Regions from separate parts of the Homo sapiens genome. Here all the other regions are linked to region 2. The links are contacts of gene promoters, found by promoter capture Hi-C in blood cells and fetal thymus (Javierre and others, 2016). All regions are on one chromosome and are shown on one strand. Each heading gives the region's core, a stretch centred on a gene start or on the middle of the fragment in contact. The rest is flanking DNA. Distances are from core to core; before and after follow the strand shown. Region 1 has its middle 37 kb from the start of SLFN11. Region 2 holds the start of PEX12 (peroxisomal biogenesis factor 12). Region 3 holds the start of SLFN12 (schlafen family member 12).

The links. The method cuts DNA at HindIII sites, captures the fragments that hold promoters and counts their contacts. A CHiCAGO score of 5 or more calls a contact.
Region 1: a fragment that was not itself captured here is called in contact with the fragment with the promoter of PEX12 in region 2 in 3 of 17 cell types (activated CD4 T cells, neutrophils and total CD8 T cells); the score reaches 6.8 in activated CD4 T cells.
Region 3: the fragment with the promoter of SLFN12 here is called in contact with the fragment with the promoter of PEX12 in region 2 in 17 of 17 cell types (total B cells, neutrophils, monocytes and 14 more); the score reaches 14.9 in total B cells.

Annotation. Positions count from the first base shown.
Region 1 is chr17:35,334,584-35,337,896 of GRCh38, forward strand. No RefSeq gene overlaps it. Among named protein-coding and RNA genes, the nearest start is that of SLFN11, 37 kb to the right of the region's middle. The HindIII fragment of the contact is 1,930 bases long and covers 319-2,248 here.
Region 2 is chr17:35,577,321-35,580,668 of GRCh38, forward strand. PEX12 (peroxisomal biogenesis factor 12) reads right to left here and starts at 1,251. Exons shown (of 3, transcript NM_000286.3): 1 at 576-1,251; 2 at 1-271. The coding sequence starts at 701. RefSeq lists an enhancer at 515-1,330. The HindIII fragment of the contact is 3,440 bases long and covers 1-2,498 here.
Region 3 is chr17:35,430,560-35,433,850 of GRCh38, forward strand. It overlaps SLFN12 (schlafen family member 12), which reads right to left and starts at 1,941. Exons shown (of 4, transcript NM_018042.5): 1 at 1,629-1,941. RefSeq lists enhancers at 1,851-2,576, 1,945-3,144, 2,073-2,292, 3,113-3,291. The HindIII fragment of the contact is 4,520 bases long and covers 611-3,291 here.

The DNA of each region.
Region 1 (3,313 bases), core at 34-2,533, 240 kb before region 2:
CTATCCTTCAGTTCTGTATCTTTTAAGGGGAGCATTTAGGCTATTTACATTCAATGTTAGCATGGAGATGTGAGGTATCATTCCATTCATCGTGCTATTTGTTGCCTGTATACCTTTGTTTTTTGTTTTTTGCTTTTTAAATTGATTGTTTTATAGGTCCTGTGAGATTTATACTTTAAAGAGGTTCTCTTTTGATGTGTTTCTAGGATTTGTTTCAAGATTTAAAGCTCTTTTTTTGCAGTTCTTGTGGTGGTGGCTTGGTAGTGGTGAATTCTCTCAGCATTGGTCTGAAAAAGACTGTCTTTCCTTCATTGATGAAGCTTAGTTTCACTGGATACAAAATTCTTGGGTAATAATTGTTTTGTTCAAGGAAGTTGAAGATAGGGCCCCAATCCCTTCTAGCTTGTAGAGTTTCTGCTGAGAAATTTGCTGTTAATCTGATAGGTTTTCCTTTATAGTTACCTGGTGCTTTTGCCTCACAGTTCTTAAGTTTCTTTCCTTAGTCTTAACTTTAGATAACAATAACCTGATGACAGTGTCCCTAGGCAATGATCTTTCTGTGATGAATTTCCCAGGTGTTCTTTGTGCTTCTTGTATTTGGATGTCTAGGTCTCTAGCATGGTCAGGAAGTTTTTCTTGATTATTCCCCCAAATATGTTTTCTAAACTTTCAGATTTCTCTTTTTCCTCAGGAACACCAATTTTTCTTAGGTTTGGTCACTTAACATAATCCTAGACTTCTTGGAGGCTTTGTTCATATTTTCTTTTTTTGTCTTTGTTGGATTGGGTTAATTCAAAGACCTTGTATTCAAGCTCTGAATTTCTTTCTTCCGCTTGTTCAATTCTATTGTTGAGAGTTTCCAAAGCATTTTGCATTTCTAGAAGTGTTTCAGGAACATTGTTTCCTGAAGTTTTTATTGTTTTTTATTTACGTTATTTCCTTAAATATTTCTCCCTTCGCTTCTTGTATTATTTTCTGGATTTCCTTGCATTGGGCTTTGCCTTTTTCTGATGCCTCCCTGATTAGCTTAATAACTAACCTCCTGAATTCTTTTTCAGATACATCAGGTATTACTTCTTGGTTTGGGTCCATTGCTGGTGAGCCAGTGTGATTTTTTCAAGGTGTTAAAGAAACTCATTCTTAAATGAGAATAAAAAAGGAATTTATTAATCGCAAAAAGCAAATTGTAACTGCACAGTGGGGAAACCTGGCAGATGTCACTTTATCCAAATGATCAGAGTTAACATCATCAGGAATGGAACTAATCACTATCAAGTGCCTTCTAATACCATGAACTGAGAACCATAACATCCCTTCTATGGTATTCATGCCAAAAATGCATAACCTGCATCTAATCATGAGAACACATGGAATGACCCAAAATCATAGATACTCTGCAAAATAATAGGCCAATCCTCTTCAATAGTGTCAAAGATATGACAAACACTGATTAACATTTCCAGATTAAATAAGACTTAAAAGAAATGAAAGCTCAATACAATGCACGATCTTAGATCAAATCCTAGACCAGAATTATTTCTCATTTGCCATAAGACATTTGTGGCACAACTGATAAAATTCAATAAAGTCTGTAGATTAGATAATAGTATCAATGTTAATTTACTGATTTTGATGATGGTACTATAAATGTCCTTTTAGGAAATACCCACTGAAGTATTTAGAGGTAAATGGGAACCTGTCTGCTACTTATTTTCGAATATCTCAGGAAGAAAAATGGTAGAAGGAGGCACAGGGACAAGGCGAGAGAAGGCCATCAGGATCATCTGTGGTCAAAGGACTCTGGGCACACTGACATCCAATACCTAATTTTAAACTTTTGATTGTTTTATTATTATTTTGTTAGAGATAGGGTCTTACTCTATTGCCCAGGCTAGGATGCAGTGACATGATTATTGCTCACTACAACCTTGAACTCCTGGAATCAAGCGATCCTCTTGCCTCAGCCACTGGAGTATCTAGGACTGCAAGAGCACACCACCACACCCAGATAATTTTTCGTTGTTGTCTTCTGGAGAGGGGGTATCTATGTTGCCCAGGCTGGCCTCATATGATCCTCCCACCTCAGCCTCCTCCTGCTAATATTATAATTTAAGTATTTGCCTTTTGCTATGCTCAAAGTTTTACTTAGCCTTGTTGAAAGTAGGGCCAAGTGTTGACTGCTAATGTGTGAAACAAAAGATATGACTTCTTTCCATGCTTGGGATACAGAGGAGCATAGAGGAACAGAAGCTTAGAAAAGCCATTATGTCAAGCCAACTAGAAACTATCAGAGGCCTTGGTACAGCATTTTATTGCAAGAAGTGGCCGGAGACTACCAGGACAGATCTGTGGAACATGGAAGCATTCCTGGAATTCTCAGAAATCTCAATAGAAAGAAGCTAGGTTTAAAAAACAAAAACCTTTGTCTATTTACACATAATAAGAGCTCAGACAATATTAGTGGGTACTAAAAATCTCAGTGACACTGATACCTGGAGAATTTAGATACATTCCAATTTCAAATAAATAAATTTTTCTGCTATAAAGTAGAATAAATTAAACAAATATCTTGACCCTCCCTCCATTGCCCCTTGTGTCCAATCTAGAAGTAAGAGAAAGAGGAAACATAGGTGCTGTGGGGTTGTTGGTCATATAGATTCCCCAAAAAACAAGGAGAACCTCATCCTGGTGTTCAGAACCAAATCACATACATTGTAAATGTGATCAATGCCTTGAACAGGGAAATAGCTAAGAAGTACATTTTGGGGAATGAGGTATTTACAGCCTTATGCAAAAGAAAATAAAAGGCTGTAGGAGGGTGGGATGTGATAGATGTGGAGATGCACTCCCTAGATCCCCTTTTAATAAAGGACTTGCTGCCCAGATATGGAGAGGGCACTCAGCAAACAGCCTGCAAATGTCAGCTCCTTTGAAGTCTGCCTCAGCTGCAGAGCCACCTTGCCTGGGGTCACAATCCCTTCCCAGAAAGTTCACAACTGGCCCCTGAGCAAGGCTACATTCCTCCTCATGTGGGGATCCAGGCTGACAGAAGGTCCCTGTCTGAGACATTGTCAGTCTTGAGGCAGAAAGAAACAAGTGTATGGAGGATCTAAATGGTGGCTCTGAAAGCTCTTGTTCAGGGTAGCACACATCATTTCTACTCACATTTATATTTGGCCAAAACAAAGCACATGGCCCAGCTTGATTACAATGGAGTAGCAAGTGTAATCCTAAGAGTGTAAGAAAATGTTTTGGAAAGGAATACAGTCAGCCAGGCATGGTGGCCTCTGCCTATAGTCCCAGCTACTCAGAA
Region 2 (3,348 bases), core at 1-2,500:
GCTTCTCCAGCTTCACTTTCAGATAGGGAAGAAGAACCAGGAACATAATAGATTTCCAAAGCTGCTGCTTTGGGAGACCAGCACTAGCCAATCTCTGAGACTTGTGAGTGTCCCCCATTACAATTCTCTTTAAGCCGTAAAAGTTTTCAGAAAATGAGGCACTGGTTCTAGACAGATAATGTTGCTGGAGCAGAAGATCTAGCAGAGTAAAGATTTCATCAAACCACCTCCACAAGAAGCCATAGTGGGTGGGATTTGATTCTGCAAGAACCTAAAGCAAAATAAAGCAATAAGTGAAATTCATTCCATTACACAAGTTCTACACCTATTTACATTCCCCCTTTTCCTCTAAAGTCTACACAATTTGTTTTAAATAAGTCACTGTTGGACCCTGAAATGCTGGGTATTCAGTACAGGTCTCTACACATAACAGAGACTCAGTAACTCTTAAGTCATGGGATACAAGTTATTTGCAAATTGGCTATTTCAAACGCTAGGCTACCAAATAAGCACAAATTATTCGTTTGTTTTTTACCCAGTTGTCCCTAAAACCTTTCCAAGAATTAATACCTTACCTTGACCACATGCTGAAGAGCGGGTCTCACTGCTGTCATTAAACTGTCCTGTGCTACCACCTCAAAGATGGATGGCTGGTCATCGGCCACAGAAGCAGCTGTGAAGTGAGCCCCGTGCTCAGCCATAGTTTCCTGCGTGTACTGGCTTTCACTTTTCCCACAAACTCTCTCGTGAGCATGAACTTTTTCGGGAGGAAGAGTATCAGATGGGTGCTCAGTCTTAAAGGTAAACTTTCTGCATGATATCTGAAACTCGAAACTCAATCTTATGGGCAAAAATGAACTGGGAAAAAAAGACCTGGAGGCCGAGGGTAGTCTCAAGAAGGTTAAGAACAAAGTTAACTCGGACGTGGGTGGAAGTAGTATGTGGCGAGGGGGTAACTTGTCAAATGCTGCACGTCAGGGCAGAGCGTGACTGTGGGGGACAGGTATGGGGGAAGGAACGCAATCCTCTGGAGCTGCGAACCAGAAACGCCCCCTCCTCCCCAATCGTGAGAGCTCAAAAGCCAGCCGACTCTGAGGATTCAGTCGTGCCACTGTGAGCCCGGGACACAAGGGCTGACTCCAGCTGTTGGCTTTGAGTATCCCCGCCCGCGCCCGTCCTTGCTCGCTGACCCCAGGCGAGGCGCAAACAACCCACGACGCCACGTTTGAAGGGAGGTCTCCGCTTTATGACAGAAGCCGCACCCGGAAATGAAACCACCAGGACCTCTGGGATGCCTGGCGGAAGAGAGGCGCTCTAGTTCCGAATGCGGTCCGGAAACCAGAACTAGAGAACTCTATGACCCACCTGAGCTTCCGCTCCCGCCCCGCTGAAACAGAAGAGGGCCCTTGTGGGCTGGTTTTGGCTAGTTTGGTTTACTTTTCGTAGCTGGGTCTGCATGGTAGCCTCGCTGGAAAGCTACAGCTCTGAACCTCTCTCTGCGAGGTCTTTTTGACAAGCTGTTTGGGGCACCGCGCAGACGTCTGGCGCCGGGAGCCAGAGCTCGGGCCCGTTGCTGAGCCCTGTGTTCCTGCAGGCGATGAAGCTAGGGGCGGTGGGAGGAAGGGAATCTGGAGGTGGAAAGGACTTTGCTGTACGCGTGCGGCAGGGATGGTGGTTAATTTATATGTCTTAGCCTTCCAGAAATGATTTAAAGCGACATAGCAGGAGATAGGAGCCTTAGATTTATTGCCGCCAATTATAAGGAAAGATGATTGGATTGAGAAAGGTTCATGCTTGTTCCTCAGTACTTGAGACGGTTAATTTTCATCCAAGCTGGTAGTTTAACGTCTTCCAGGTTTTGGCTATATTCAAGCATAACTGCATGCACTTGCTATACTGGATGAAAATGGTCTCCATCCTTGAACACAGTTGTATATGTCACCACCAGCGATATGAATACAGTACTAACGCAGAGGGAGCTTTATGAATTGTAACTAGCATGCACTGGGGACACTTGACAGAAAGTTTCCTTTCATGCCGTTTTTATACCAAAATGAATGTGATTTACCTTAAGGTTTGTAAAGTGCTTTTATGTTATGTACAGCTTTGTCTCGCTGAAGTTGGCTGACACAGCCTTATTGAATTTGGATGAGAGTTCCACCTCTCCTCCCTTCCTCTGGGAAGTGCCACCTCTGGGCTAAATAGCTGGGAATAGAAGGTATTGTTTACTGCCCTAGAGGCCCTTATGTTATAAAAATAATTGGTTTGCATAATGAGAACCCTCAAAAACAAGGTTTGGATTTAGTTATTCCAATAGGAGAGAAAACCTTACAAATTGTCCTTAATTATAGTTATAAAAAGTGTTTTTTACTCTACCAAAAGACATTATATTGATATATGATTTTTACCTTACAGAGTTTTAAGACTAGACATAGTTTATCCATATGAAGCACCTGGATACATATTAGGTGCTTGTTTAATAGTAACTGTTATGTACAAGCTTTTCTTAAGTGAATAGCAAAAATACAAAGTTGAGAGGTAGCATCAACTAAATCAAGCAGGAAATTAAACATTTTTGTCACTTAGGGATCTTTGGTTACAAGCAACAGAAACAAACAGGCTAATTTAAACTAAAACGGAATTTATTAGAAGTGTATGGAGTAGCTCACAAAATAAGTAAAGCCAGCCCTGAAAGAACAGGAACTTAACAATACTATTGGGACTGCCTAACAGGAATTAGAAGTTCTTATCCAGGCAACGTTGTTGCAGTGAACGAGCTTCCACCAATTTCTGTTTGTGACTCTGCTCGTGATACAAATTTTGACTGACCTCTCTTGGTTCAAGTTCCCTCTCCACCCTGTCTTTCACTCTTAGCCAGGGGAAGGCAGGATGTCTTGATTGATAGTCCCATGGAAGTACTCCAAAAGTTAACTAAACGTATGGCATAAGAACGCCTATAATCCCAGCACTTTGGGAGGCCGAGGCGGGTGGATCACCTGAGGTCAAGAGGTCATGACCAGCCTGACCAACATGGAGAAACCCAGTCTGTACTAGAAATACAAAAAATTAGCTGGGTGTGGTGGCACATACCTGTAATCCCAGCTACTCGGGAGGCTGAGGCAGGAGAATCGCTTGAACCCTGGAAGCGGAGGTTGTGGTGAGCCGAGATTGCACCATTGCACTCCAGCCTGGGTAACTGAGCGAGACTCCATCTCCAGAAAAAAGAAAAGAAAAAGGAAAGGTAGGGCCTGGTATGGTGGCTCATACCTGTAATCCCAGCACTTTGGGAGGCTGAGACGGGTGGATCACGAAGTCAGGAGTTTGAGACCGGCCCAGCCGACATGGTGA
Region 3 (3,291 bases), core at 691-3,190, 150 kb before region 2:
TTGAAGAGAGACCATTTGACATTCTAGAGATGGCTGCATGCAAACATCGAAAACCTTTGAGAGAATACAGTGCACCAGGGAGCCTATTATTATGATGACTATTGGGAGGATAATACCAAGAGTTTGGAGGATGCTCCTTGCCCAGGGTTCCCATAAACCAAACCAGTTAAAATTAAATAGATCAAATAATGAACTAAATAAAGAATCTACCAACTTAAGTAAACAATCTCCTCATTAATCCCCTACAACTGAATCTCTTAATCTTCATTTAATGTATTTCTCCATAGACTCTAAGTGCCAGCAGCTGCACAGATACTTCTCTGTTCAGCCAATTCTATCATAACTTTCACAAAAGAATTTAAAGTCTGTTGTGTAACTATGGCCTTTACAGTAGATGTTCTGAGAACATCTATCCTATGGGTTCTAGGTTGTGAAGGGGTTGATTGTTCTCAGTGAACCATAAAAAGCTTTCTTTACCTGGTGAAAATACACTGTAGCATAATCATGGGAAAAGCTTTTATACAACAAGAAAACATGCATTGAAAGTGACATTGAATAAAATCCCTTTGTAAATGTTTAAATGGCCCATCGGGTAGCCAAATGTACCTGAAGCTTTGATTGTCTTCCCAGGAATATGGATTTGAGAAACCAAACATTGGTTATAAACAACTTTAGCAATTTATAAGTCAGCGGTTTCCATGGCAGTTTGATTTTTAAAGGTCAAACTTCCTCGCACTTCAAAGAACGCTGAGGCCAAACAGCACCAAAGGAGAACATCACACTTTAACCCGACACAACCCTGCTTAGAACAGCAGCACAAGAGCCTGCATACATGCAACTCCATCCCACTTTACCATTCAACAGCAAACTCCAGATTCCAAACAATATTGAGGCCAAACACTACTGCAACCGGAAGAGAAAATTCTAAGGAGGGCTTAGTACTAGGCCTAAGAACCTCTACCAAAGGAACCCCCTTGGAGAGGCTGAGGTCCAAAGGATCCTCCAGAGCATCCCCCTTTAGGGTCCAATCTTAGAGCGTCAGACGTCTCTGACCTTAGGTGGTCACCAGTGCCACTTTACATGTTTTCCCTCCAGAGGGGATGGCCTACTGTGAGCTTTCCTTTTGTCTCTGGATGAAGGCCTTGACTTCTAGCATCCTTATAATTTGATAAGGCCATGCTTTCCCATGGTTCCCATTCCACTAGAGTGATAGTCATGAACTTTAATGATATGAAATGGAGGCTAGGTGGGTTTCTTTTAACCTTAGCCAGTAGAGTAGGGGAAGGGAAGAATTTAACATAAGGAAAGAAGGTTTAAGTCACCTGAAACACGTGTGAGTTCGCCCTGGAGAAGCTGCGTCACACATAGGGATCAGGGACCACAACCAGAAAAGACAGAAAAGAGCCCTTCCCGCTTCTGGGCAGGGCAACTATCCCCATTCACTCCTTGGCCTTCAAGGCAGCACTGGAGAGTAGCCCCCGGCCAGAAACCTGCAGTCGCCTCCGTGTCTAGGCGCTACCCACCAAGGATCCCACGTTGGAAAGGAAAAGAGAAAGAGAGAGATTTACCTGTATGGAGCAGAAAGGAAAAGGGAAAGGAGAAAAATAAATCCCAGACTTTGGGCTTACCTCCTGGTTGGCTTGCCAAAATATGTTACCAGTGAAGAGTGTCCAGGTTCTTGGCGTGTTGAACAAAGAACTGGACAAACACACAAACAAAGCAAGGAAAGAATGAAGCAACAAAAGCAGAGATTTATTGAAAACGAAAGTGCACTCCACAGGGTGGGAGCAGGCCCGAGGATAGCGGCTCAAGAGCCCGGTTTCAGAATTTTCTGGGGTTTAAGTACCCTCTAAAGTTTTCCCACTGGTTACTTGGTGTGCACACAATGTAAATGAAATAGGAGCCCGAGATCAGTCTGAATGGTTGCAGAAAGCGATCAATGGGAGGCTGAAGTGAAGTTACAAAGTTATGCCCTATGAAAACATCTGATTGGACGCAGAAAGCGAAGTTACAAAGTTACATTCCTATGCACATGAAGACTTGGCCCTGGAGACCAGTCTGATTGGTTGCGGGAGGGGACCAATCAGAGGTATTTTCAGTTTTTCATCTGCCATGTAGAAAAGGAGGGGCTACAAAGGAAGTTTGTGGAAAGTTGGGATTTTCCTCCAGACCCTTATTCTCCTGCTTCAGAAGGGAGAGAAAGCAGACCGGGATGGGGGTGCGGGGATCTTCCCGGGAGTGGTGGGGTTGTGTTACCAGTGCCCCACCTCCTCCCGAGCCAGCAGACTCCCCAGAAATGAAAAACTAAGGCTGGAAGGTTTAGCGATGGAGCAGGACCAACTTACCAGCTCGCGGTGCTCCCTAGAAGCTGGATTCTTCGCAGGTGCGAGCACACCCCAGATGCCAGCGTGGACCCTTGAGCAACTGGAAGTTAAAAACCCACGAAAACAGCTCTGAGTGATCTCTAGGGAGCTCTCGTTTCTTTTTCACCCATGTGTATTTTTTAAGACAAAAAGAAAAAAGGTAATTTAAAGAAAACAAAGAACAAAGGAACTTGGCGAGGCCCAGGCTACAGTCCGCGGGCTCACTCTCCACAGAGTAAAAAGAACGCGAATCCTTTTCTGTTTTCCGGCCCTCCCCATCCTGGGCTGCGGCTCCACACTTCCCCAGCGTGGCCTGCATTTCTATTGGGCAGCTGGCGCTCCGGAAGTGTCCGCACTCTTTATTATCGACTCTGCGCCTTTGGGCAATTGTCACTATTTTGGTTCATCAAAATTGAAGAAATACCAGGCATTCTTACCATGCCCCTAAAGGGGTGACTCAACCTTTCCAGCTGTACTCGCATTCCCAGAGCAGCACTGCTGCCCCCTTGCTTAAAAGCACGGTTGCCCCCAGGAACCAGGCCAGGGCAGCTGTGGATGGACAGGAGAGGACAAAGGTGCAAGGAGCGGATTGCTCCAGGACAGACAGATTCAAATACCTACCCCTGGCAGTGTAGGGAGCATCTTGGGGCCATTTGGGAGATTCCTTTATTGGGATGCTCCAAAGGCTAGTCTGGCCGGATACAGTCCTCCTGCCACTTTGCTTTCCTTTAGCCCCCTTATTATGATAATTATGGTAATACATGTTTTTCCTGCTAACTTGTCTAAGAATTGGTGTCTCAGTACATAGCTTTTGAAATGCACACAGGCCACGATGACTCATCACAGGGGAATGTGCAAGTCTGAGTTGCTCCTTCTCCGCAAGCTCCACCTACCCCACTCTGGACTGCATTAACTGCCTACTGCCTAT